Regions from separate parts of the Homo sapiens genome. Here regions 1, 2, 3, 4, 6 and 7 are each linked to region 5. The links are contacts of gene promoters, found by promoter capture Hi-C in blood cells and fetal thymus (Javierre and others, 2016). All regions are on one chromosome and are shown on one strand. Each heading gives the region's core, a stretch centred on a gene start or on the middle of the fragment in contact. The rest is flanking DNA. Distances are from core to core; before and after follow the strand shown. Region 1 has its middle 14 kb from the start of TMEM30B. Region 2 holds the start of SIX1 (SIX homeobox 1). Region 3 has its middle 22 kb from the start of SIX1. Region 4 has its middle 8.2 kb from the start of SALRNA1. Region 5 holds the start of TRMT5 (tRNA methyltransferase 5). Region 6 has its middle 3.4 kb from the start of TMEM30B. Region 7 has its middle 32 kb from the start of SIX4.

What was found. Contacts are between HindIII fragments. The CHiCAGO score rates a contact against its expected background, and 5 or more counts as called.
Region 1: a fragment that was not itself captured here is called in contact with the fragment with the promoter of TRMT5 in region 5 in 2 of 17 cell types (endothelial precursors and M2 macrophages); the score reaches 6.2 in endothelial precursors.
Region 2: a contact is called between a fragment that was not itself captured here and the fragment with the promoter of TRMT5 in region 5, in 13 of 17 cell types (endothelial precursors, M2 macrophages, M1 macrophages and 10 more). The highest score is 14.8, in endothelial precursors.
Region 3: a contact is called between a fragment that was not itself captured here and the fragment with the promoter of TRMT5 in region 5, in 1 of 17 cell types (endothelial precursors). The highest score is 6.0, in endothelial precursors.
Region 4: a fragment that was not itself captured here is called in contact with the fragment with the promoter of TRMT5 in region 5 in 15 of 17 cell types (endothelial precursors, M2 macrophages, M1 macrophages and 12 more); the score reaches 17.6 in endothelial precursors.
Region 6: a contact is called between a fragment that was not itself captured here and the fragment with the promoter of TRMT5 in region 5, in 1 of 17 cell types (M2 macrophages). The highest score is 5.0, in M2 macrophages.
Region 7: a fragment that was not itself captured here is called in contact with the fragment with the promoter of TRMT5 in region 5 in 1 of 17 cell types (endothelial precursors); the score reaches 5.5 in endothelial precursors.

The regions. Positions count from the first base shown.
Region 1 is chr14:61,266,179-61,269,343 of GRCh38, reverse strand. It overlaps a transcript of PRKCH not described here. Among named protein-coding and RNA genes, the nearest start is that of TMEM30B, 14 kb to the left of the region's middle. The HindIII fragment of the contact is 667 bases long and covers 1,342-2,008 here.
Region 2 is chr14:60,646,697-60,650,003 of GRCh38, reverse strand. It overlaps SIX1 (SIX homeobox 1), which reads left to right and starts at 527. Exons shown (of 2, transcript NM_005982.4): 1 at 527-1,374. The coding sequence starts at 815. MIR9718 (microRNA 9718) reads right to left here and starts at 1,356; the gene lies at 1,293-1,356. RefSeq lists a silencer at 371-610 and enhancers at 621-1,241, 1,242-1,863, 1,864-2,485, 2,486-3,108. The HindIII fragment of the contact is 4,221 bases long and covers 1-3,307 here.
Region 3 is chr14:60,669,475-60,672,979 of GRCh38, reverse strand. No RefSeq gene overlaps it. Among named protein-coding and RNA genes, the nearest start is that of SIX1, 22 kb to the right of the region's middle. The HindIII fragment of the contact is 9,505 bases long and covers 1-3,505 here.
Region 4 is chr14:60,629,454-60,632,644 of GRCh38, reverse strand. No RefSeq gene overlaps it. Among named protein-coding and RNA genes, the nearest start is that of SALRNA1, 8.2 kb to the left of the region's middle. The HindIII fragment of the contact is 1,727 bases long and covers 723-2,449 here.
Region 5 is chr14:60,979,738-60,983,050 of GRCh38, reverse strand. It overlaps TRMT5 (tRNA methyltransferase 5), which reads left to right and starts at 1,972. Exons shown (of 5, transcript NM_020810.3): 1 at 1,972-2,088; 2 at 3,165-3,313. The coding sequence starts at 2,078. It overlaps SLC38A6 (solute carrier family 38 member 6), which reads right to left and starts at 1,806. Exons shown (of 16, transcript NM_153811.3): 1 at 1,669-1,806; 2 at 413-543. The coding sequence starts at 1,773. RefSeq lists an enhancer at 1,703-2,082. The HindIII fragment of the contact is 5,504 bases long and covers 1-3,313 here.
Region 6 is chr14:61,282,935-61,286,560 of GRCh38, reverse strand. It overlaps a transcript of PRKCH not described here. Among named protein-coding and RNA genes, the nearest start is that of TMEM30B, 3.4 kb to the right of the region's middle. The HindIII fragment of the contact is 1,943 bases long and covers 573-2,515 here.
Region 7 is chr14:60,690,990-60,694,272 of GRCh38, reverse strand. No RefSeq gene overlaps it. Among named protein-coding and RNA genes, the nearest start is that of SIX4, 32 kb to the left of the region's middle. The HindIII fragment of the contact is 2,434 bases long and covers 402-2,835 here.

The sequences.
Region 1 (3,165 bases), core at 426-2,925, 290 kb before region 5:
CTGGGAGTAAATAAAGTTTGGATGTTTATAAATTTTATGACAATTTTGTGACTTTCTATACATTATGATTAAGTGATCAAAAAATTTATCATTAATTTTTATTCAAATAATATTTTCTGCAATATGATTCTAGTGGTTACTACAAATTTCTTTTTTCTCTAAAAAAACTTTTTCACAAATATGTTAGTTTTACAACTATGTCATAAAGAAAAAATTTTTGGCTCTAACTTTGGAAAAGTACACGTCATTTACTTTGTCATAAGCATAGGCACAAAAAATGGAAAAGACTGCCACTTTTTTTCTTTTCACCAAATGTCTTTGCCAAATAGGAAGAATATGTCTTTTTATATTTGAAACTATATTTTTCTTTTTAAGTGGAAGACCAATAAATATTGGCAGATGCCTTTCCCAGGAACTGTATGAAACTGACTCACAGCTTAATGGACTGACTGATACACTTACAATAGTCACTTCTTTCTGGAGCAGAAAGCCTCCAGAGTCTTTCCAGAAGCAAAATTAAGTATGCCCAGTTAGCATTCTATGAATTGCTTTGAATTGCTTGTACTGGAACAGTCATTCAATCAAAGCAAAAAGCTTTAGGTGGGAATGATTTAAACTTTGCCTACTTTTTGAGGTTGATATTGAACCTAAGAAATATATATATATTTTTTGGCAGGGGGCAGCGTCTTGCCCTGTCACCCAGGTTGGAGTGCAATGGTACGATCTCGGCTCTCTGTAACCTCCGCCTCCCGGGTTCAAGTGATTCTTCTGCCTCAGTCTCCCAAGTAGCTGGGACTACAGGCATGGACCACCATGCCCACCTAATTCTTTTGTGTTTTTAGTAGAGCCGGGGTTTTACCAAGTTGGCCAGGCTGGTCTCGAACTCCTGATCTCAGGTGATCCACCTGCCTCAGCCCCCCAAAGTGCTGGGATTACAGGTGTGAGCCATCGCACCCGGCCAGAAATATAAATTTTTGTAAACTATTTTAAAATTGTGTGTAAGTGAAGCTGGTACCATTCTTCAATACCAAAACAAATATTTCTTCCATTCTAAGCTGCACTTCCCCCCACATTTTAACATTTCTAAAATCAGGATGTATATCAAAGTCTTGGCTTCTCACAATCCATGGCATGTTACAATTGCTGGCACTTAGACAGACTCACTGTCAGCCAGGTAATGGTCAGGATGTAGCTGTCATTGTGCAGTACTGTCATATTTGGGGCAAAACACTGCATTGTGTACAATAACATAGACATTGAAGATTCTGTCTTTAAGGGATTCCGAAGAGTTGGACTCTGAACATGAAGGAATTTTAGGAAAATCTTAGCAAAAATAAAGCTTAGTTTATTTTAAATATATTTTTCTTTTCATATCAGCAGAAGCATGATACGTAAGAAAAATCTATCTAAACAAATATAAAAGCACCCTTTTAATAAGGATAAAGTGCAAAAAATGTAAAAAATTGTTAGGTGATATTTTAATTGGCAGCATTTTTTTTCTTAGTGGTACATAACGTAATGGTGCATCTTATGATTCTCGACATCTTAAATTCAATAAATTATACAGCATAACAACAAGACAGTGGAAAAAATGCTTTTGAATTCAAAACCAGATGACATAAGATGGCATTAACTGAAAAGGTGTATTCACTCAATTTCCACTGCCTGCACTATCAATCCATTCTGAGAAGAAAATGGAATTTTTAAAATGCTCTCACTCCTCTGATGTAAACGAATACTAAAAGAATAAAACAGTGTGCCGGATGCCAACATGAATCAGCTCCTCAGCCTTCAGCATCTCACTATAATTATTGGATTCAGTCCAACCAACCTTCAGGATCACAAGAAGGGTAGCTGAGGGGCTCAGAGATCAAAGCCTACATGTAGTTCGTCTGAAGCCCATGTAATATACCTCACTGGAAGGATGCACTTGGGGCTAGAGTGTCAGAAGAGTGAGAATATTAAAGAGTCTTTCTCAGTCCCTGAGGTCTCCTTGAACCGGGAAGCTTTGCTAGATAGGCATACATCAAGGCTCCGAGCATTACATCTCGCTGTACTCTCTCAATCTGAATTGTATGTGAGTATGCGAAGTTGATGACCACATATAAATCATAGTTATTTCTGTTGACAGGAAATAAAGTTAGACTATCAGACATACTCAGAGCCAATATCTGCTTTCATGTTTTTCAAAGTTATAGGGAAAAGATGTCTTCCATTATTGTGAACGTATTGTCAGAGTGAAGACTGAGCCAGTTCTATAGCCTCCAGGTCCTTTTCTCCGCCAAGAATGGAAAACATGCTGTGATAAAACGTTGCCAAAGGAGAGTTCCAAATAAAAGCCTCCCAGTCTATTTAGACTTGGCGTGGTTGAAGACTCCCTTCAACCCCACCCTCTACCATCCCACCCAAGGAATGAAGTTTTTGCTTTTCCTTCAAAAACTGTGTTTCTTGTTTCCCATCACCCATCCCCATCACCTCATCTCCCTCCCTAGGCGCCGTTTCAGCAAAGCTCGGGGAATCAGAATTTTTTTTAGCATACACAGATTCTTATATCAGTTTTAGGGCCTCTATTAGCATAAAATATACACAAATAAGTGCATTAGCAGCATATAGATGAACCAGGCATATAAAGCCATTTCTAGTTACATATTCTCGTGAGACAATTCCTCTCCTGGTCCTTCGTAAAACAAGTTTCCATCTGTCTTTGCTCAAGATCCATGTTTCAGTGCTGAGTCAAGCCACTGATTCGGAGGCTCATGAATGATTTTCCTATGTTTCCCTGCAATGCATTTTACTTTTTATGCACTCCCAGAAGTTCCTTGCTTTTAAAAATGGTCTTATTATGCAGCTTCAGGGGCTATTTATCACTACATACTTTCTGGACCTATAATTTTTATTTATGTATTTATTTATTTATTTATTTTTGGAGATGGAGTCTCGCTCTGTTGCCCAGGCTGGAGTTCAGTGGCACAATCTCAGCTCACTGCAACCTCTGCCTCCCAGGTTCAAGTGATTCTCCTACCTCAGCCTCCCGAGTAGCTGGAATTACAGGTGCATGCCATCACACCCAGCTAATTTTTGTATTTTTAGTAGAGTCGGGGTTTCACCATGCCTGCCAGGCTAGTGTCGAACCCCTGACCTCAAGTGATCCACCCACCTCAGCCT
Region 2 (3,307 bases), core at 546-3,045, 330 kb after region 5:
TTGAATTATTTATCGCGTTCCATAAGCTATTCATCAATCCATTATTTATTCATTCCAACATTAAAGTAATTAAATATGAGCTCACCGGGAGAGGGCAAGTCTGCAAGGGATGAGGACAAGAGTACGGAGGGAGAGGGGAGGAATTAAGGTTTGGAGTCATTGATTTGTGCGGAGTTGTGCGCGACTCCCCTTAGGTGATACTGGCGACGGGTCCCGCGTTGCAGGGTCCTGACGCGCTCACCCACTCCCTACCTCCCCACACCTCCGCAGCGCAGCTCCCTCAGACCCCAACTGGCTTCCCACCTTTCCTCTTCCTTCTCCTCCCACCACTCCCTACCCGCGCAGCCCCGGCAACACCCCCAACCCCCAGCTCCGCAGCCTCGCCCTCCCCGCTCTGGGCGGTGCGGCCTCTCTGCCCAGCCGGGCGGCGCGCTGGCTGGCCAGCCCCGGATAGGCGCCGCCGGCAGCCAATCAGCGTGCCGGGGACGCTGCGCGCTTTAAGGCCGCTGCGGGGAGAACAGAAACCAAGTTCCCCGGCAACTAGCAGCATCCACCGGGCGGGAGGTCGGAGGCAGCAAGGCCTTAAAGGCTACTGAGTGCGCCGGCCGTTCCGTGTCCAGAACCTCCCCTACTCCTCCGCCTTCTCTTCCTTGGCCGCCCACCGCCAAGTTCCGACTCCGGTTTTCGCCTTTGCAAAGCCTAAGGAGGAGGTTAGGAACAGCCGCGCCCCCCTCCCTGCGGCCGCCGCCCCCTGCCTCTCGGCTCTGCTCCCTGCCGCGTGCGCCTGGGCCGTGCGCCCCGGCAGGCCCCAGCCATGTCGATGCTGCCGTCGTTTGGCTTTACGCAGGAGCAAGTGGCGTGCGTGTGCGAGGTTCTGCAGCAAGGCGGAAACCTGGAGCGCCTGGGCAGGTTCCTGTGGTCACTGCCCGCCTGCGACCACCTGCACAAGAACGAGAGCGTACTCAAGGCCAAGGCGGTGGTCGCCTTCCACCGCGGCAACTTCCGTGAGCTCTACAAGATCCTGGAGAGCCACCAGTTCTCGCCTCACAACCACCCCAAACTGCAGCAACTGTGGCTGAAGGCGCATTACGTGGAGGCCGAGAAGCTGCGCGGCCGACCCCTGGGCGCCGTGGGCAAATATCGGGTGCGCCGAAAATTTCCACTGCCGCGCACCATCTGGGACGGCGAGGAGACCAGCTACTGCTTCAAGGAGAAGTCGAGGGGTGTCCTGCGGGAGTGGTACGCGCACAATCCCTACCCATCGCCGCGTGAGAAGCGGGAGCTGGCCGAGGCCACCGGCCTCACCACCACCCAGGTCAGCAACTGGTTTAAGAACCGGAGGCAAAGAGACCGGGCCGCGGAGGCCAAGGAAAGGTACGCGGCGTGCTTCCCGCGACTCGGGCGACCCTAGGAAGCCGTCCTTTCTCCTCCGCCCCCTCCCGCCCCCGCAGGCACCAGCCACCAAGTCCTCCCCGCCGGCCGGAGCCCGTCCACGGGGCGGCGCGCAGGCCCTCCGCGGCGCTGCAGCGAAAGTTCATGAACTCTGAGGTTCCTTGCTAAGGATGGGGCCTCATTTGCTTTGAGCACCCGCGCGTGGGTTTCTCTGGGATGTGAGTGTCGGGAAATATTGGCGCTAGATTTGGTCTTTATGCCTCCCTGGCTGGCCGCGGCTATGAGTGGTGGGTGGAGAGTGAGTTTCTAAATCAACGGGCAGTGAAATGTTGATTGGTGTCGCAAGGAAAGGGGTTTGGTGGGAGCTGAGGTTCGCGAACCTCTCTCCTCTTGCTCCCCAGAGGGGTGAAGCTGGCCTGAGACATTGGCTCTGCCCCCACTCCCGCCTGGTTCTCCACAGCTCTCTCTTGATAGTCTTTTGGTTTAGAGGTAGCCTGCTTCATTTCTCACTAGCTGGACAAATGGAGGAGACTTTTAAAGATACAACAAAAAGAGAGCTTTGGGGAGAGTTGGCGCTGCATTTACTCCCCGGCGCCCCAAATTAAGAAAGGGTTGATCCTCGCCGTGCTCGCTCGCGCGTGGCCCGGCACTGCAGCCCGTCGGTCTGGCTGACCGCGCCGCATGCCCAGACGAGGAAAGGGTCTCCAGTCGCAGCCCTCTCTCGCACTGGAGCTCACAAGGCAATATTTTAAAAATTGGTCTCTACTTTCCCCCACCTCGGGGCAACACCTTCGGCCACCTGGGCAGGCTCCTTCTGTTCTCTATAGCGTTTCGGACAGAGATTCAGAAGGACGGTGGGGAGGTGGCTGTGGCGGGGAGAGCGCTCCGCGAAGCCAAAGAGTTTGGGGGAAAACCTGAGCGCAGGGGCCGGTTAGGTTTTCCTTTGTTCGCTTCCAAGACTAGGGGCCGAAGATCTTGCTCCCTTTCTTGTCTTGGTGGAAAACCAGAGCCAGGATAAATTCTGCTGAAATGGGCTTGTCGGGAGACAGAGACTGTGAGGATAAGGGGAAAGAAAGGAGACAGACAGGCGCTAGGAGTCGGGAGGACTGACGAGCACTCGGAAGGCGGAAGCGGCGAGGGAAGCGAAATCCTGAAGTTAACCGGTACCGAGTGCCCGGACTGACGCCCCAGCGCGCCGCGCCCGCTGGCAGCCTGTGCGGGGCGGCGAAGTTTCCCCTGCCCAGAAAGGATGGGTTGGGGTGGGTGTTGGTAGGAAGTTTGAGAGGGGGACACGAGGGGCTGAAGAGTTAGCAAGTAACACAGGAACAGGGATTGTATGGTTGCAGTTAGCCTTTAGTTACAAAACGGCCGTCCTATAAGCCAGGCCCGAGGGCCGACTCCAGATGAAATCAGAGACTGGCTGCGCTCCCTGTGTTTACTCAGGTCACTGGGCCGCGCTGGGCACCACTTCCCATGACCTGTTCTGTGTCTGCAAAACCACCAACTCTGGGCTGGGGCAGGAAAACGGGATGTTTAATTGTCTCCTCATATGCGAACAAGGCAATGGACTTGATTCACCCCAAACATTTGTGCATTGGACTCTGTCCTCTATCATTTCTTTATCACCAATATCTATTTATTGAAAGATTTTCAGTTACATTTAAATATGTTGCTAGTTTATATGTATTTAAATGTAACTGCTTGAACAAAATTTAAAACATATATTTTGTATGTTTCAAATAAATCCTGCTAATCTATCACTTTCTGAAATCTGGAAGAGAAAAGGACCTGGCTCCTAACAGGAGGCTCTGTCCGTAGCTCTCCATTTCTCCAGGTTCCTCTGACTCCTCACCTCCCCCATTACCCTTGGGGATGGGTGGAAGGGTAGAGCTCCTCCATTTGGGTTGGTGACAGA
Region 3 (3,505 bases), core at 689-3,188, 310 kb after region 5:
TTAATTATTAGAAAACAAGTTAGAAAGGAGGAATATAGACAAGATGAAACCAACAGAAAACAAATAGATGGTAGAGTTACATGAGATCATATCAGTAAGTTCGTTAAGTGTAACTGAATATCAGTTTTCTTTATAAAACACTAAATGATACATTGTTCATTAGTAACACACTTTAAACATAAAGACACAGATGACAGCAAAAGGATGGGAAAAGGACAGCATGAAAATATTAATAAAAAGAAAGCTGGAGGCTGGGCGCAGTGGCTTAAGCCTGTAATCCCAGCGGATCACGAGGTCAGGAGATTGAGACCATCCTGGCTAACACAGTGACACTCCGTCTCTACTAAAAAATACAAAAAATTAGCCGGGCGTGGTGGCGGCCACCTGTAGTCCCAGCTACTAGGGAGGCTGAGGCAGGAGAATGGCGTGAACCAGGGAGGTGGAGCTTGCAGTGAGCCGAGATCACGCCACTGCACTCCAGCCTGGGCTACAGAGCAAGACTCCGTCTCAAAAATAAAAAAAGAAAAGAAAAAAAGAAAGCTGGAGGCCAGGTGCAGGGTGCAGTGGCGCGCACCTGTAATCCCAGCACTTTGAGAGGCCCAGGTTGGTGGATCACTTGAGGTAATGTGTTTGAGACCAGCTTGGCCAACATGGTGAAACCCCATCTCTACTAAAAATACAGAAATTAGCTGGTTGCGGTGGCATGCGCCTGTAATTCCAGCTACTCGGGAGGCTGAGGCAGGAGAATTGCTCGAACCCAGGAGGCGGAGGTTGCAGTGAGTTGAGATCATGCACTGCAGCCTGGGTGACAGAGTGAGACTCTGTCTAAAAAAAAAAAAAAAAAAAAAAAGAAAGAAAGAAAGAAAAGAAAACTGATATGACCATATTTATGAGACAAAGTATACTTTCAGGCAAGAAGTATTACTAGAGATAAGAAAGAACATTTCATAATACTAAAAAGGTTTGCTTCAATAGGAAGACCCAACAATTCTAAATTTGTCTGGACATAATAACATAACTTTAAAATATATGAGCTGAACTAAAAGGAGAAATAGACAAATTCACAATCATAATTGGAGGTTTTTTTGTCGCCCAGGCTGGAGTGCAGTGGTGGGATCTTGGCTCACTGCAACCTTCACCTCCCAGATTCAAGCGATTCTTCTCCCTCAGCCTCCCGAGTAGCTGGGATTACAGGTGCCCACCACCACGCCTGGCTAATTTTTGTTTCTGTTTTTTTCAGATGGTGTCTCACTCTATTGCACAGGCTGGAGTGCAATGGCGAGATCTTGGCTCACCGCAACCTCCACCTCCCAGCTTCAAGTGATTCTCTTGCCTCAGCCTCCCAGGTAGCTGGGATTACAGGCGTGCACCACCAAGCCCTGCTAATTTTTGTATTTTTAGTAGAGACGGGGTTTCACCATGTTGGCCAGGCTGGTCTCGAACTCTTGAACTTGTGATCTGCCTGCCTCAGCCTCCCAAAGTGCTGGGATTATAGGCATGAGCCACCGCGCCTGGCGTTTTTTTTTTTTTTTTTTAGTAGAGATGGGGTTTCTCCATGTTGGCCAGGCTGGTCTCGAACTCCTGACCTCAAGTGATCTGCCCACCTCGGCCTCCCAAAGTGTTAGGTTTACAGGCTTGAACCATCAAGCCTGGCCTTAATTGGTTTTAACAGACATCTCTTAGTAACTGTTAAAAACAAGAAGACCAAAAAGTCAATACAGATATATTTAAACAACACTATTAAGCAACTTGACCTAATTGATATTTATAGAACACTATACCCAGCAACTGCAGAATACGCATTCTTTTCAAGCACATACCAAAGATAGACCACATGCTGGGGCATAAAGCAAGTCTTAAAAAATTTCAAAGTACTGAAATAATATACAGTATATTCACTGACCACCAGAAACCAATACAGATGGATAAGTAGAAAATTCCAAAATGTATAAAAATTAAGGAACATACTTCCAAATGACCTGCGGGCCAAAGAATAAATCACAAACAAAACTAGAAAATACTTTGAATCGAAGAATAATGAAAATAAAACATCAAAATTTGTGGAATATAGCTTAAACAGTGCTTAGAAGGAAATTTATGTTTTTTTAATTTCACAAAGATAATCCAGGCCCAGATGTCTTCAAAGGTGACTTCTTCCAAATATTTAAGAAGGAATAATGACAATCTTTCTCAAACCCTTTCAGAGATTAGAGAAAAAGAGAACACTGTTTTTGTGGCTAACATATTTTATTATGGCTAACATAAATTTGATGCCAAAACAAAAATCTTTTCTGCATATGGAAAGGATTATTAATATGCTTTAGAAAAATATAAATAATACGTTATATATCAGAAAATCATAATACATTTTATTGTAAAAATTATAAATACAACATTAGCAAGTTGAATACAGAGAAATAAAAAAGATAGCACATCATTACCAACTATGGTTTATCAAAGAAAACCATATAATTATCTTAATCAATACAGAAAAAGCATTTGATAAAATATAACACCCACTCAGGAAAAAAAAGCTCAGCAAATTAAGAATAGAAGGGAATTTTTTTAATCTGACAACAGCTATCTGCAGAAAGCCCAGAAACTATGGCTGACATATGTAATGGCGAACCATTGAATGCTTTTCCTCTGAGGGGCCACTGCAATTCTGTGGTAGAAAGTACAGGTTTTGGCATGGTGCGGTGGCTCACGCCTGTAATCCCAGCACTTTGGGAGGCCAAGGTGGGTGGATCAGGAGGTCAGGAGATTGAGACCATCCTGGCCAAGATGGTGAAACCCTGTCTCTACTAAAATACAAAAAATTACCCAGGTGTGGTGGCGCACGCCCATAGTCCCAGCTACTCGGGAGGCTGAGGCAGAGGAATCACTTGAACCTGGGACGTGGAGGCTGCAGTAACTGAAATCACGCCACTGCACTGCAGCCTGGAGACAGAGCAAGACTTCATCTCAAAAAAAAAAAAAAAAAAAAAGGAAAAGAAAACAGAAAGTACAGGTTTTTTTCAGCATATGAGGCTAGAACTCTTGGATATCCAGATGGAGAAAAATAACACAAAGTTGGTGATATGGTTTGGCTGTGTCCCCACCCAAATCTCAAGTTGAATTGTATCTCCCAGAATTCCTACATGTTGTGGGAGGGACCCAGGGGGAGGTAATTGAATCATGGGGGCTGGTGTTTCCCATACTATTCTTGTGATAGTAAGTCTCAGGAGATCTGATGGGTTTATCAAGGGTTTCCACTTTTGCTTCTTCCTCATTTTTCTCTTACTGCTACCATTTAAGAAGTGACTTTCGTCTCCTACCATGATTCTGAGGCCTCCTCAGCCATGTGGAACTGTAAGTCCAATTATACCTCCTTTTGTTCCCAGTTTCAGGTATGTCTTTATCAGCAGCATGAAAATGAACTAATAGATTTGACCTCCACCTTATACCATATACAAAAATTATTCAAGATTGCTCAAAAATATAAATATCAAATTAAAAAAATCAA
Region 4 (3,191 bases), core at 337-2,836, 350 kb after region 5:
GCCACATTTCTTAAGAGCTGAGAAATAAAACATCAAGTCCTGACCACACAATTCACCTTAATATTTTTTAGTTCTCTTGGAAGTAGTATCAACGATGCTGGCATCCTGGCTGGAATTCAGATGTAAGACCTGGCGTATGCGCCTTTATGTTCCAGTCATAACTGGAAGTGGTATTTATTCTTTACTTCCTGTTCTAGATTTTAGTGTGGTATCTTTTGTGTGTATGTGGATGGCTGTTAAGCTGATGGCTGAGGAAGCTTTGAAGACTTTCTATTTATTCATATTTTAATTGATTTAACCTCTTAAGATTGAACAAAAAGTTATAATGTTTATAAATACTTTTTATGGAAGAAAAATATAAGCTTGCTTAGTGTAGGTGAATTACTGAGACTATAATACTGATGGCTATTATATGTATACTGTATCTCTTTATGACTACCAGATTGGTAAATTTTTTCAGTAAGAAAAAAATCGATTATTGAGTTTTATAGAAATCAATGGGTTATTAAGATGAAGTACCATCTTAGACAATGTGCATTCACGAATCAGCTTAATGTCAGAAAAAAATTTCTTATCTTGGATCAGCTATTTGGAGACAGTAAACAGAACCAGCAGTGAATTCCTAAGGACCATAGTTTTTGGTAATGTATGTGAAGTGAGAGATTACTGTAACTTACTTATTTTCTCAGCAATTTGACCTATCTAGTAATCTCTCAAAAGCTTGGCTCTTTCTTTTCCCTATATCTTCCTCTTTCACACATTCTCATAACCATGCCAGGTAGATTCTATGCAATTGTCTTTACTAATGGAAATAAACACTATTGAATCATTGACTCATTCATCAACAGTGGGTAATTAATTAAGGCTTGTAGGGGGGAGACATTGGAGTTGGTAATGAAGTTGAATCAAAAGGGGTAAGAAAAAACGTTTTCTCTCTTTTGCTGATAAAGTTGTGCTTATAATTAGCTAAAGATTTGAAAAAGTAAAAATGTAATGCTAGAAGGGATTAGATAATTGAGTGAACTTGTGCTGCCTGGTTGAGCCAAATGCTTTGCATCTAGAAAGCAGACATGTCAGCACAGAGATCTCTTCTAAACTTCTGGCCCCTTTGTTTTCATCAGAAATGAATCCAAATATTTAGATATGCTCTGAGTGTTACAGTTAAATTAGAAATTTTGCCTAGAATGAAATCTCTGGCAAAGTGAAATTGCTGGCCATGTATGTACAAGCAATGATAATAAAAGTAAGGTTGAAAACAGTAAGCATCTCATGAGAATTCCAACTTAGTACTGTCTTTGTTTGTGAATGCAAGGAAAAGAGGTAGTGGAGTGTACCTCTAACTCTTATAGGAACACTTTTCTACCTTGAGAATTTGGCAATAGTTAGAAAACCACCATCGTGAAAGGCCTCTGCCCTCCTGGTAGAATGATTTAATGTGGCTGTCTCAGAAAGAATCTGCTCATGGCCACTGGTTAATTCATAGAGTTGAGGTCACATTTATTTTAAAGAGTTGACCAGTTAAATATAAAGAAAGCTCTCCTTTCTAACAATGAGTAGAGAATTATGGTTAAAAATATTATTCACGAGCAATCCACAAAATGGTTCTTGGGTCAAGTGTAGCGCTAACAGTGAGGATTTGGCCATGGCCTCCAGATACAACTGTATATGGGATAGCCTTATCACCCTGCCTGATCTCTCTTGATAAGATTGTGGAAACTAAAAACCGTCCAGGTAGCCTTGGAGACAAATTGTCCCTGAGAAATGGGAAGTACAATTACCTAGAAAAGCATCATGGTAACATCACATATTTTATAACAAAGGTGTAGGCTGGTTTCATTAAGTTGTATCTAATATATACGTCATTCATGTTTGGGGGAGATAAGTATTTTTATTATAAAAAATTTAGAAAAATGATCTTTGTCTTTAAACTGTGACTCTTTACCTTTGCTAGCATTTTTTTTAATTAAAAAAAAATCCAAACAAAAATACTGCCAGATTACCCCAGGAAGGTGTTAACCATAGTAAATGTTCATAAGGTAATGAGAGCAAGATTTTTATCTAACTACATTCAGTGAATTTATTGGTGTTTAACTCTGTATTAAACCCAGAAAAACAAATCTAATATAAACAGTGTCTTTTTGGAATAATTGTAGTTGTATTGGTTAACAAGTATAAGCATGTGTATAAACTATGGTTACACTTTTTAAACTAGATTCTTCCAAATGCCTAAGGCTGTGCCTATAGAAAACTGGCATCACATTCCCATAAAACAACAACTACTTCAAATGCAGTGAAACTGGCCATTTGCAGTACAGAAAGCATAATGTTTATTGGACTGACTGCTCCAATTTTATAAACAGTTTGTAAATCTAGATTAGGCAGGCAGCTTCAGTCAACCTTTTCCCTCACCCCTTAGTAAATTACAGGTCTGTTAAGGTACACAAAAGCTTTCAGGCCATCAGGGTTCTATTTCTATCTTTTTATGTTTTAAAATTTCTTTCTATATTTTTAGTAGAATCATATCTTAGAGATCTGCTAAAGAGTACACCAGCTGCCTGAATGCCTTACTGTATTCAGCATGTTGGCAAAGATAATTTATTAAGAGTGTAACTTGTACATAATAAATAACATCCTTTATTGCAGTTGTCTAACCTGTGGTTTGTCATCTTCTTGTTAAGAGTTCAGGGTGGCTAGAAAAAAAAACATTTAAGGTTCTAGATAACCCATCAGAACAGGCTGAGTTTACTGCATTGTGGTTGCCTTTTAAGGTTCTTGGCAGAAGTTCACTGCCACCTTTGATGCCCACTCAAAACACCTCAGTATTTATCCTTTAAAAAACATTTTCTGGTGTTATTTCCAGAAGCAGTAATTATGCTCTCAATAAACCCCTTCTAGTCTTGTTCAGAAAGGGTTTAGAGGGGCAAGTATCATTTCGAGTTTAGCACATTAGTTAAACCTCAAGGGGTCTAGGACTTGGGCTAAAATCTGGAAAATATCTCATGGATTTTCAAATTGTCCATACTTTAGATAGGATCAGCTTGTGATGATTTAGAGACTTTGTCTTGGTCAACTTCAGAAGGTAGCATTATCATTCCTTTTTCTTTCTTCCTCCCCTCAACAAGAAAACCTTGACTCTGATGATTTATAAAGAACCTAGACATGTAGTTTTCTTTTCTGAATATTGAATAAAT
Region 5 (3,313 bases), core at 723-3,222:
AAAGTGAAATAAGACTACTTAACAATACAAAGAGACAGCGAGGAATGAAAAGATTATGTGTTGTATTTGCACTCACAAAATTGCTATTTGGAAGTTAATCTGCATGGCTTTGATTCACTTTGGCCAAGGAGATACAATGAATATGCCACTCTTAAGTGTCATATTTCATTATAAATGAAATGTGGATCAAGTTCCCATTTTTAAAAACTAGTCACACTTCTGTGTATTTAAGAAGCTATGTAGTAGCCCTCCAAGGTACACACTAGCAACAAGAATAACAAGAAAAATGCTAAAACCCCAGAAATAACTAACTAGAAATTGTATAATAGCAGCTTCTGGAATCTATCTCTCTACTTCTCCGTATATTATCAAAATGGAAAAAAAAATTTGATGCTAAAATATGAAGACTCACCTAAATCCAAAGACACCGGTATTAGCCAAAACATAAGCTAAGCCAAGGATGCCACTTCCCATGATGGCATTCATCAAATTAAACACTGATAAACCAAATGAAACACCTGGGGATCGCTGTCTGTGAAGTTCCTGTAAGCACACAAATTTAGTAGTGTTAAATGTTTGGACGGTGAAGTTAAAATTTCGTAAAGAAATTCCATAAATGAAAGATTATGGAAAAAAGCTGCAAACCACCAGGGTTTGTATGACACACTCGTTGCTTAACCAACACTAATTTCCTTTCCTTTCCTTCCCACCTCCCACTACTGCAGCTCCAGGAATCTAGGGTTTCTTAGGAAAATGATTTCCACCAGTACACAAGACAGGCAGAGTTCAGGAAGGGCCATGACTAACCTTGTGACTGCAAGAGATGAAGATAGGATGGGAATGGAGTGGGGAGAGAGAGGAGGGATAAGGCCTCAGCTCATGTGATTACTAAAGAATTGCTGAGTCAACCTGGGACTGCTGTGGGCAGTTGTTTCTCCTCAATTACTAGGACTGCACAACTAATCTCTACTTATATATCTAATGAATTAGTTCTACCAAACTGGAAGGATGGTCAGGAATATCTTGCAATGACAATATTATAAACAGAAGCAATTCACGTTGTTCTGGCAGTATCCCTGAAAACATCCCCCTCCCCACAAACAGCACCGGGAACAAAGTCCTGGGAACAGTGTCTAGGACTCGAGTTAAAAAGCGGAGTGCCCACTGCACAGGCTTTAGGGTCAGGAACGTGCTATGCACTTACTACCAAGCCACTTCCATTCTACCGCTAAGAATTTCTGTATTAAAATGTTTATTATTTTCCCTCCCCCCATGACTAAGTCGGAAGAGGAAAATCCTGTGACTCTTGCAAAGACCTCACGAGACTGGTGGAGAAAATAAGGTGACAAAAATACTAACTAACAGCAGTGAGTACATAATCCTAGGGCCGCTCATCCCATCATGTTCGCAGCTTCCACTCAACGCTGCATCTCTTCCACCCGACGCTTTTCATCTTTTCTTTCTAGAGTATGCTAGGCTGCTATCACGTTCATAACTGCGCCAATCTCATCTGAATCTCGGCGGCTGCCTTCAGACCCCATCCCCCAGGGTTCAGGCTCCAGCATCTCCCCTGTCCCGGTGCGGTCCTCCTTTTCTGGGTCTTATTTGGCAGGCACTTGAGGGAAGCCGGAGGGCGTCAGCGCGGGGAAGCGAACACAGCCCACTTACGTTGCTTAGCAACGGACTCAACTCTTCGGCCTCCGCTTCTTCAGGCTGCTGGACAGAGACATACCAGCCCCGCTCAGCGTTGAAGCTCCCCCAGGACGCCTCCATGCTGCTCTCCAGCTGACTACCAGTTCCATCTACGAGCCTCTACCCCTGCCCTGCGCTCCAGTCGTCGGTCGCGCCAGAGGCGGAGCTTTGAGCCCGGCCCTTCCGGCATTCCGTACTTCACCAGGGCCTGGAAGGAGAGGAGCGAGTCGACTTGATCTGATGACGCGCGCCCTCTTCGCGGCGAACAGTGATGATGTCATAGAAGACCCGCCCATCCACCCGCGACCCACATCCGATCGGTACCGGAGCGGGAGGTGAGGGGTCGGCTCGCGGATCCAGCTGCAGAGCGACGTGGGGAATTGGAATGGTGCTTTGGTGAGGTGGCGGCCGCGTTAGGGGCTAATGGTCCAGGGGAGGTACCAGCCCGCCCAGGGCTGCTCTCTGCCATGTGCTGCCTGGGCACAGAAACATCGCGAGGTCACCCACCCGCCTAGGTGCTGAGCTTAGTTTCGAGGTTCTGGATAGTAAGGAATGTTTCAAAAGCCTTTCGCCACATTTTACTGGTGGGAAAACCGAGACTTATAGTAATTTATCCAGGGTCACCCAGCTGGTCAGCTGCTAGAACCAATTTGATCTCTGACGGTGAAGTTAGACTTCGTTGCTTTACAGGATTCTGGGACAGGGCCCTTTCCCCTTACAAGTAAATTCTTTGGTATTTTAGAAGACAGTGAATAACTGATACTATGCATATAACAATCAGCAAAGCTCTCGTCCTCAAAATACAGAAGCCTCTAGTTAAAGGCAGGACATGTGGCAGTAAAGCATCGAAAACAAACAACAGAGCAATATATTAAGAACACAAGCACCGAAGTCAGTCAAAACTAGGTTTTAATCCATGTTTAGCCACTTATCAGCTGGGAGACTTTGGGTGGGTTACCTTACGTCTGAGCTTTAGTTTACTTATTTACAAAATGAGGGTGCAATACTGCACACCTCCCAAGATTCATAATGTACATAAAGCATTTAGCGCAGTATCTGACACAATAAGCACCCATGAGACTATCCTAATAAATATCACCACTAGTAATGGTCATGTATAATGACTATTTCATTTACAGATGACCATTTAACTCATACTTCAGTCTTCCAATCCCAAATGTATTATCTAGAAAATTGTGGGTGAAGAGGATCATTGAGTATGGCTAATGGATCACTAAGCCCTCTGAACTGGGAGCAGATGGGTTGAAGGTGTAAATTTAATATATACCACTATTATCTACCACTAATACGACTTCCTGAAGAAGTCATCCTAGTCTGGAAAAGATAGTATACTTCCCACACATCACTAAACGTTTTATTTGTCAGCATTTAGCCCGTTATTTGAGATAGTAGAATTTAGATTTTTATTCTCAAAAGCTGTCGTGTGTGAATTTTTTTTTTTTTTTTTTAAGGATCTTATGGAGGCCATTTGGATTCTCAGGAAGATTTCTGAAACTGGAAAGCCATAGCATAACTGAATCAAAATCGTTGATTCCAGTAGCTTGGACATCCCTGACACAGATGCTTTTGGAAGCACCTGGTATTTTCTTATTGGGTCAAA
Region 6 (3,626 bases), core at 295-2,794, 300 kb before region 5:
AGGTGATCCACCCGCCTCGGCCTCCCAAAGTGCTGGGATTACAGGTGTGAGTTCACCCTCTCTTTGACCACTGTTTTGCAGTAAGTTAGTGACAAAGAACCAACACACCGTGGCAGGGAGTGGAGAGAATTCGCTTCTGTCTTTTGTGCCTCTGGTGCTTACAGTGCTAGTTAATTAAAGTTTCTCTGCATCTTCCACTAGGGGGTACCACTCCATAACTTTTGAAACAGAAGTCTGCTGGATGCAGTTCTTAATAAAAAATGAAGTCCAGGCACAAAGAATTTTTTTAAAACTTTTCTGAGCGCATGCTGTAATTTTATGAAGCAATTTAATTTGATTCTTTTTAAATAAAAGCTGCCCCATGGGCAGAGTAATAGGCAACAATCTTGAGCAGTATAAACCTATATAAGGGAATGCCAATTAAAAACCCAGGTTCTGTTACAGTAAGATAAATAGTCATGAATTAAATGAACTACATGCAAAAACTGAGAACAGCCAGACAAGTGAAGTTATTTTTATTCTAGCAAGAGAAATGAGCATGCTAAACAAAAGTTGGATTTAAAACAAAAGCTTTTGTAAAAACAAAAATACAAGCAACTCAGCTGTTCCTGGGACTCTGTGTAAATGGAACAGAGTTTGCTTATCTTTGGGGTGTTAAGAGAAGATCTGCAACAATAAACACTGGTTCAAGGTTAACGTTTTTGGAGTTTTTTGAGGAGGAAATATGCCAAGGCCTTACAGTGTAGCATGGTTGAAGAAACAGGACACTGGAATTAAGCTGCCCTTTGAATCCCTCATCTCCCCATTACAACTATGAGAACTCAGGCAGCCTCCATTGCACTGGCTTGAATCTTAGTTTTGCATCAGTTCTTTGAGTATAATTGGACTGAATGCCCCCCATTTGTGTACAAATTAGATGGGACAATGTATATAAAGTGTTTACGCAGTGACTGTAAGTACTGATTCACAGAAGGTACTCAATAAAAGTTAGCTATTATTCAATGAGTCATTGTAAGGAAGACTAGGAACAGAAATCTTTGCTTAAAAAAGACACACTAACAATCATTTTGGTAAACACGTTCGTACAGATAAGCAATCATGAGAACAGAGAAGTTAAGCAATTTGACCAAGGTCACACAGTTATATCCTAAGGAACTTTCAGGGTAGAATCTGAACTTCCTTAAGGTCCGGCCAGCATTCTTTCCCCTATCCAATACTATTCTCCTAGTATCTGAGAGTTTATTGGCATAGACTAAATATATTCTGTGCTTAGCTCTTGGTTTTGTTGGCAAATTTTTGGTGAAAGTATCAAAATATATACATTGGTGTGGCAGTGTAAATATGACTCCAGCAGTATGTATTTTTAAAGAGCTTCACCTTTAAGTCCCTTTCCTACTTTTAGAATTTTATCCCAAGGAAAAAAATCTGAAAGAAAACGTTAGGGGGAAAGGGAGACACATAGTTTTTTTTAAAAAGGGTTATATGCAGAAAAGATGGTCACTATCATATACTTTGGAATACTGAAAAACTGGATATAACCTACATGTCCAACAATAGTTAAATATGATAGACCTATGAATTATGGCACCATTAAGGAACATAGAAAATATTTATTTCAATCTTCATCTCATTCCAAAATGAGGTAATTTGACAACTAGAATAATTGTGTGTATATCTTAATTACAATCTATTAAAAATTAAATATTTACATGGATAAAGTCTGGGAGATAAAATGAAAAAATGAAGTGATTTTAGCAGTATTTGGACTAGAAATGCCTTTTTTCTTTTCCTTTGAGTTCTTAATAACACTGATACAAAAAACAATTTTAGAGTGAACTTGTTTCTTATTTTACTGGTACTAAAGAGTTTACATGATCCAAGCATCCTTTAATACATCACAACATATGTAATAAAATGAGAGAAATGAGATCTGAACCTTCCTTACATAGTGAACTCTGAGGAACACGACAATGTATATCTATATCAGTCTTCCACCTCTCGGAACTTACGAGCTGGTAGGGGAAATATAGTGTATACATGGACCTTGGTACAGCTTCACCTCCAAGATCTTTAACACCCCATCTCATACCAGCACTTTTTCCTCCCAGCTTTCACGGCACCTGCCAATTAACATTATTAGGACTGCCAATCTACCAGTATCTTCTTTTTCTTTTGATCCACAGGGTTGGTTTCATTTTCTTCGCCTTTCAGATTAACTACTAAGGCACATCTCTTTAGCCACCCCTCCACAAGGACTGCAATACCTTGAATTTTTTATCTTTCAAATTCATCTGCCCTGAAAACCACCATATGCTGGTCACACTCAGTCATTTCTTTCTCCCAGCCTGAGGTGCGGGAGCCCAATACCCAGCTGCATTCTGCAGAGGGCATTTTTATCACCCTGCCCTCTTGTTTCAGAGGTGAGATAACTCTGCACCTGTTCTCTGAAACCAGTGGCTCTGGCTGGTGGATCAGCGTCTCCAGCCTGCTCCTGCCTTTGCACTATCAGTAAGCTTGCCACCCCTCTTTTCAACCTCATCTGCACTATTATCTTTTTCCCTCAGGATACACACTTCTCTGACATCTAAAAAAGAAGCCTTTCCTTTAGGATACATGCTCTTCTAGACAGTTATCACTTGCCTTTCTCCTTCCCTTTCCACACATTTCTAAAAACAGGCTTTCCCCTTTAGAACCCCATTCTCTCTTTTTTTATTTTATTTTTATTTTTTGAGACAGGGTCTTGTTCTGTTGTCCAGGCTGGAGTACAGTGGCGCAATCATAACTCCCTGGTTAAAGCTATCCTCCCACCTCAGCCTCTTGAGTAGCTGGGACCTCAGGCACATGCCACCACACCCAGATAATTTGTTTTTATTTTTTGTAGAAACAAGATCTCGTTATATTGCCCAGGCTAGTCTCAAACTGCTGGGCTCAAGTGATCCTCCTGCCTTGGCCTCCCGAAGTGCTTGAATTATAGGCATGAGCCACCATGCCCAGCAAGACCTCATCTCCAAAAAATAAAAATAAAAATAAAAAAAGAGTGTCTTCCTATCTTGCTATCTGCTTCCCTTTCCCTGCACCTGATGGTAACCTCATTCCTGCCACACAAACCACCCAAAGTGTTCCCACAAAAGTCAAACCCCATAATTCCTTTTCATTTATCTCACTTGAACCCTCAGCTGTGTTTAACTCTGCTGACCATTCCTTGTCTTGAAATATTCTCTTTTGACTTTGAAAATCTGTCACCTTAATTAGTGGAATGAATAAACTAGTACCTTTAGGCCATCCAGGAATAGGAGAAAAGGAGGAAAGGCTCTGAGCTCAAGAATGGGGCTTGCCCTTTTAGGGGTGTGGTGGTGATCTACTAGAAAAAAGACTTAAGATTTACCAGATAGGCTTGGTGTGATGGCTCACACCTATAATCCCAACAATTTGGGAGGCTGAGGCAGAAGGATCTCTTGGGCTCAAGAGTTTGAGACAAGCCTGGACAACTGAGGGAGACACCTCTCTCTCAAAAAAAAAAAAATCTACAAAAGTTGTGAAAACTGAATTCCTTCCTAGAGACGAGTTTTGTGGACTAGTGATTCAATGAAACGGGTGGGTGGAACTCAACCATAATGATACAAAGA
Region 7 (3,283 bases), core at 369-2,868, 290 kb after region 5:
TTCACTGTCAGTGGGAGTGCAGACTAGTATAGCTACTATGTACAACAGTATGAAGTTCTCTCAAAAAACTACAAATATAACTGCCATATGATCCCACAATGCCACTATGGGAATTTATCCAAAAGGAAGGAAATAATTATATCAGGGACACTTCTACATCCCCATGTTTATTGTAGCATTATTCACAATAGCCAAGATATGGAATCAACCTAGGCGTCCAATGACAAGTGAATGGAGAAAGAAAATTTGGTATATATACACCGTGAAATACTATTCAATCATAAGAAAGGATGAAATTCTGTCATTCACAGCACATGGATGTTACAGAAAGATGTTATGTTACATGAAATAAGCCAGGATCAGAATGTTAGACACCATGTTATCACTCAAGTGTGGAAGCTTAAAAAAATGATCTCATGGAAGTAAAAAGTAGAACAGACAATACTAGAGGCTGGGAAGAGGACGGGAATGTACATAGTGATGTTTCGATATATGTAATGTATAGTGATCAAATCAAGGTAACTAGCACAGCCATCATCTCAAACATTTATCATTTTTTTGTGTTGGGAACATTTGATATCCTCCTACCTAGTTGAACTATATATTATCGTTAATGATAGTCATCCTATGGTGGCATAAAACACTAGAACTTATTCCTTTTTTTTTTTTTTGAGACAGAGTCTCGTTCTGTTGCCCAGGCTGGAGTGCAGTGGTGCAATCTCGGCTCACTGCAACCTCCGCCTACCGGGTTCAAGTGATTCTCTTGCCTCAGCCTCCCAAGTAGCTGGGACTACAGGCACATGCCACCACACCCGGCTAATTTTATATTTTTAGTAAAGACAGTGTTGAAATAAATTTTTGTTAAAGGATGCAAAATTATAGCTAGATGAAAGGAATAAGTTCCTGGCCAGGTGCGGTGGCTCATGCCTGTAATCCCAGCACTTTAGGAGGCAGAGACGGGTGGATTACAAGGTCAGGAGTTTGAGACCAGCCTGGCCAATATGGTGAAACTCTAACTTTACTAAAAATATAAAATTAGCCGGGTGTGGTGGCGCGTGCCTGTAGTCCCAGCTACTTGGGAGGCTGAGGCAAGAGAATCACTTGAACCCGGTAGGCAGAGGTTGCAGTGAGCTGAGATTGCACCACTGCACTCCAGCCTGGGCAACAGAACGAGACTCCGTCTCAAAAAAAAAAAAAAGGAATAAGTTCTAGTGTTTTATGCCACCATAGGATGACTATCATTAACGATAATATATAGTTCAACTAGGTAGGAGGATATCAAATGTTCCCAACACAAAAAAATGATAAATGTTTGAGATGATGGCTGTGCTAGTTACCTTGATTTGATCACTATACATTACATACATCGAAACATCACTATGTCCCCTATGAATATGTGCAATTATTATTTGTCAATTTAAAAATGAAATAAAATAAAAGACAGGCCAAAAAACGTGATATGACTCTGCATGTCTGAAATGTAATTGGGTAATTGGACACTAGCCCTTTTATTCTTTTTTTTTTTTTTTTTTTTTTTTTGAGACGGAGTTTCTCTTGTTGCCCAGGTTGGAGTGCAATGACGCGATCTCGGCTCACTACAACCTCCACCTCCCAGGTTCAAGAGATTCTCCTGCCTCAGCCTCCCAAGTAGCTGGGATTACAGGCACCCGCCACCACGCCCAGCTAATTTTTTGTATTTTTTAGTAGAGACAGGGTTTCACCATGTTGGTCAGGCTGAACTCCTGACCTCAGATGATCTGCCCATCTCAGCCTCCCAAAGTGCTGGGATTACAGGTGTGAGCCACCGCACCCGGCCACTAGCCCTTTTATTCTAGCATATCTCAGTATCTGTAATTATCTGATAAACTGGTGTTCAGCAGCACATATTTTGTGAAACACTGCGTTAACTCAGAGGGAGGACTCTCTAATGAGGACATTTCATACATTATATAGGCCAGTAGAACAGATATTCTGGGCTTCTGTAGTACCTTTCATATCATATCACATTATGTAAGCATATCAGTTAGTATACATGCCTATCTGCTGTTGTAGAGGCCCAAAATTACAGTGACTTCAATAAGATAGAGGTTTATTTATCTCAAGTGACTGCCCAAAGGTGAGTAGCCTAGGTTGACAAGATACCTCTGCTCTATCAGGCCATCCAGGATCCCAGGCAGGCAGTTGGTCTCTGTGCCCCTCAACATTGATTTTCACTCCCTGTCATTTCTAGAGTAGAAGCTATCTCTTTTTTTATTTATTTATTTTTGAGATGGAGTCTCACTGTCACCCAGGCTGCAGTGCAGTGGTATGTTCTCAGCTCTGTAGCCTCCACCTCCTGGGCTCAAGGGATCCTCCCACCTCAGCCTCCCAAGTAGCTGGGACTACAGACACTCACCACCACACACACTAATCTTTTGTATTTTTTGTAGAGATGGGGTTTCACCACATTACCCAGGCTTGTCACAAACTCCTGAGCTCAGGCAATCCACTCACCTTGGCCTCCCAAAGTGCTGTGATTATGGGCATGAGCCACCATGCCCAGCAGAAATTATTTCTTTAAGAAATAATCAAGATATTGCTTAAATCACTTCTTACATATCATTGGCTAGTCACATGTCCACACCTAGCTCCAAGGGAATTGTAGTCTCTAGGTGAGTAGCCATATCCCCTACTAAAAGGTGGGGAAATTATATTCCAAAAAGGAAAAAGGAACCATAGACACTGGCGTGGGGGGCGATGGTCAATGAGTAATCTGCCTTGGACCATAGACACTGGGGTCAAGGGCAATGGTCAATGAGTAACCTGCCACTGTATTTGGCCTACTTCCTTGAAGCTTATGGAGCTCTCTCGTCTGGATAACAGAATGCAAGTAGTCATATAAATGAAAGACGAAATGCCAATTTTTCATTGGAGATGTCTATAGATCTCTCTTTGAATCAGGATGATAAATATCATCTTTAAATTATCATCATCTTGTATCTCCTTAAAAAGTTTGAGGCAATGTACAATTCTCAGTTTAAAATGAAACTCAAAAGCTGTTTTTTTTTTGTTTGTTTGTTTTTTAAGAGATGGAACACACTATACTGCCCAGACTGGACTGCAGTGATCATTTACAGGCCTAATCATGGCACACCACAGCCTCGAACTCCTAGCTCAAGGGATGCCACCTTAGCTTCCTGAGTAGCTGGCACTACAGGTGTGCATCATTGTGCCTGGCTCCGAAACTGCTCATTTAAAAAAAATTTAGACTTATTCGTAATCAACGAATTATAAGCTCCATAAG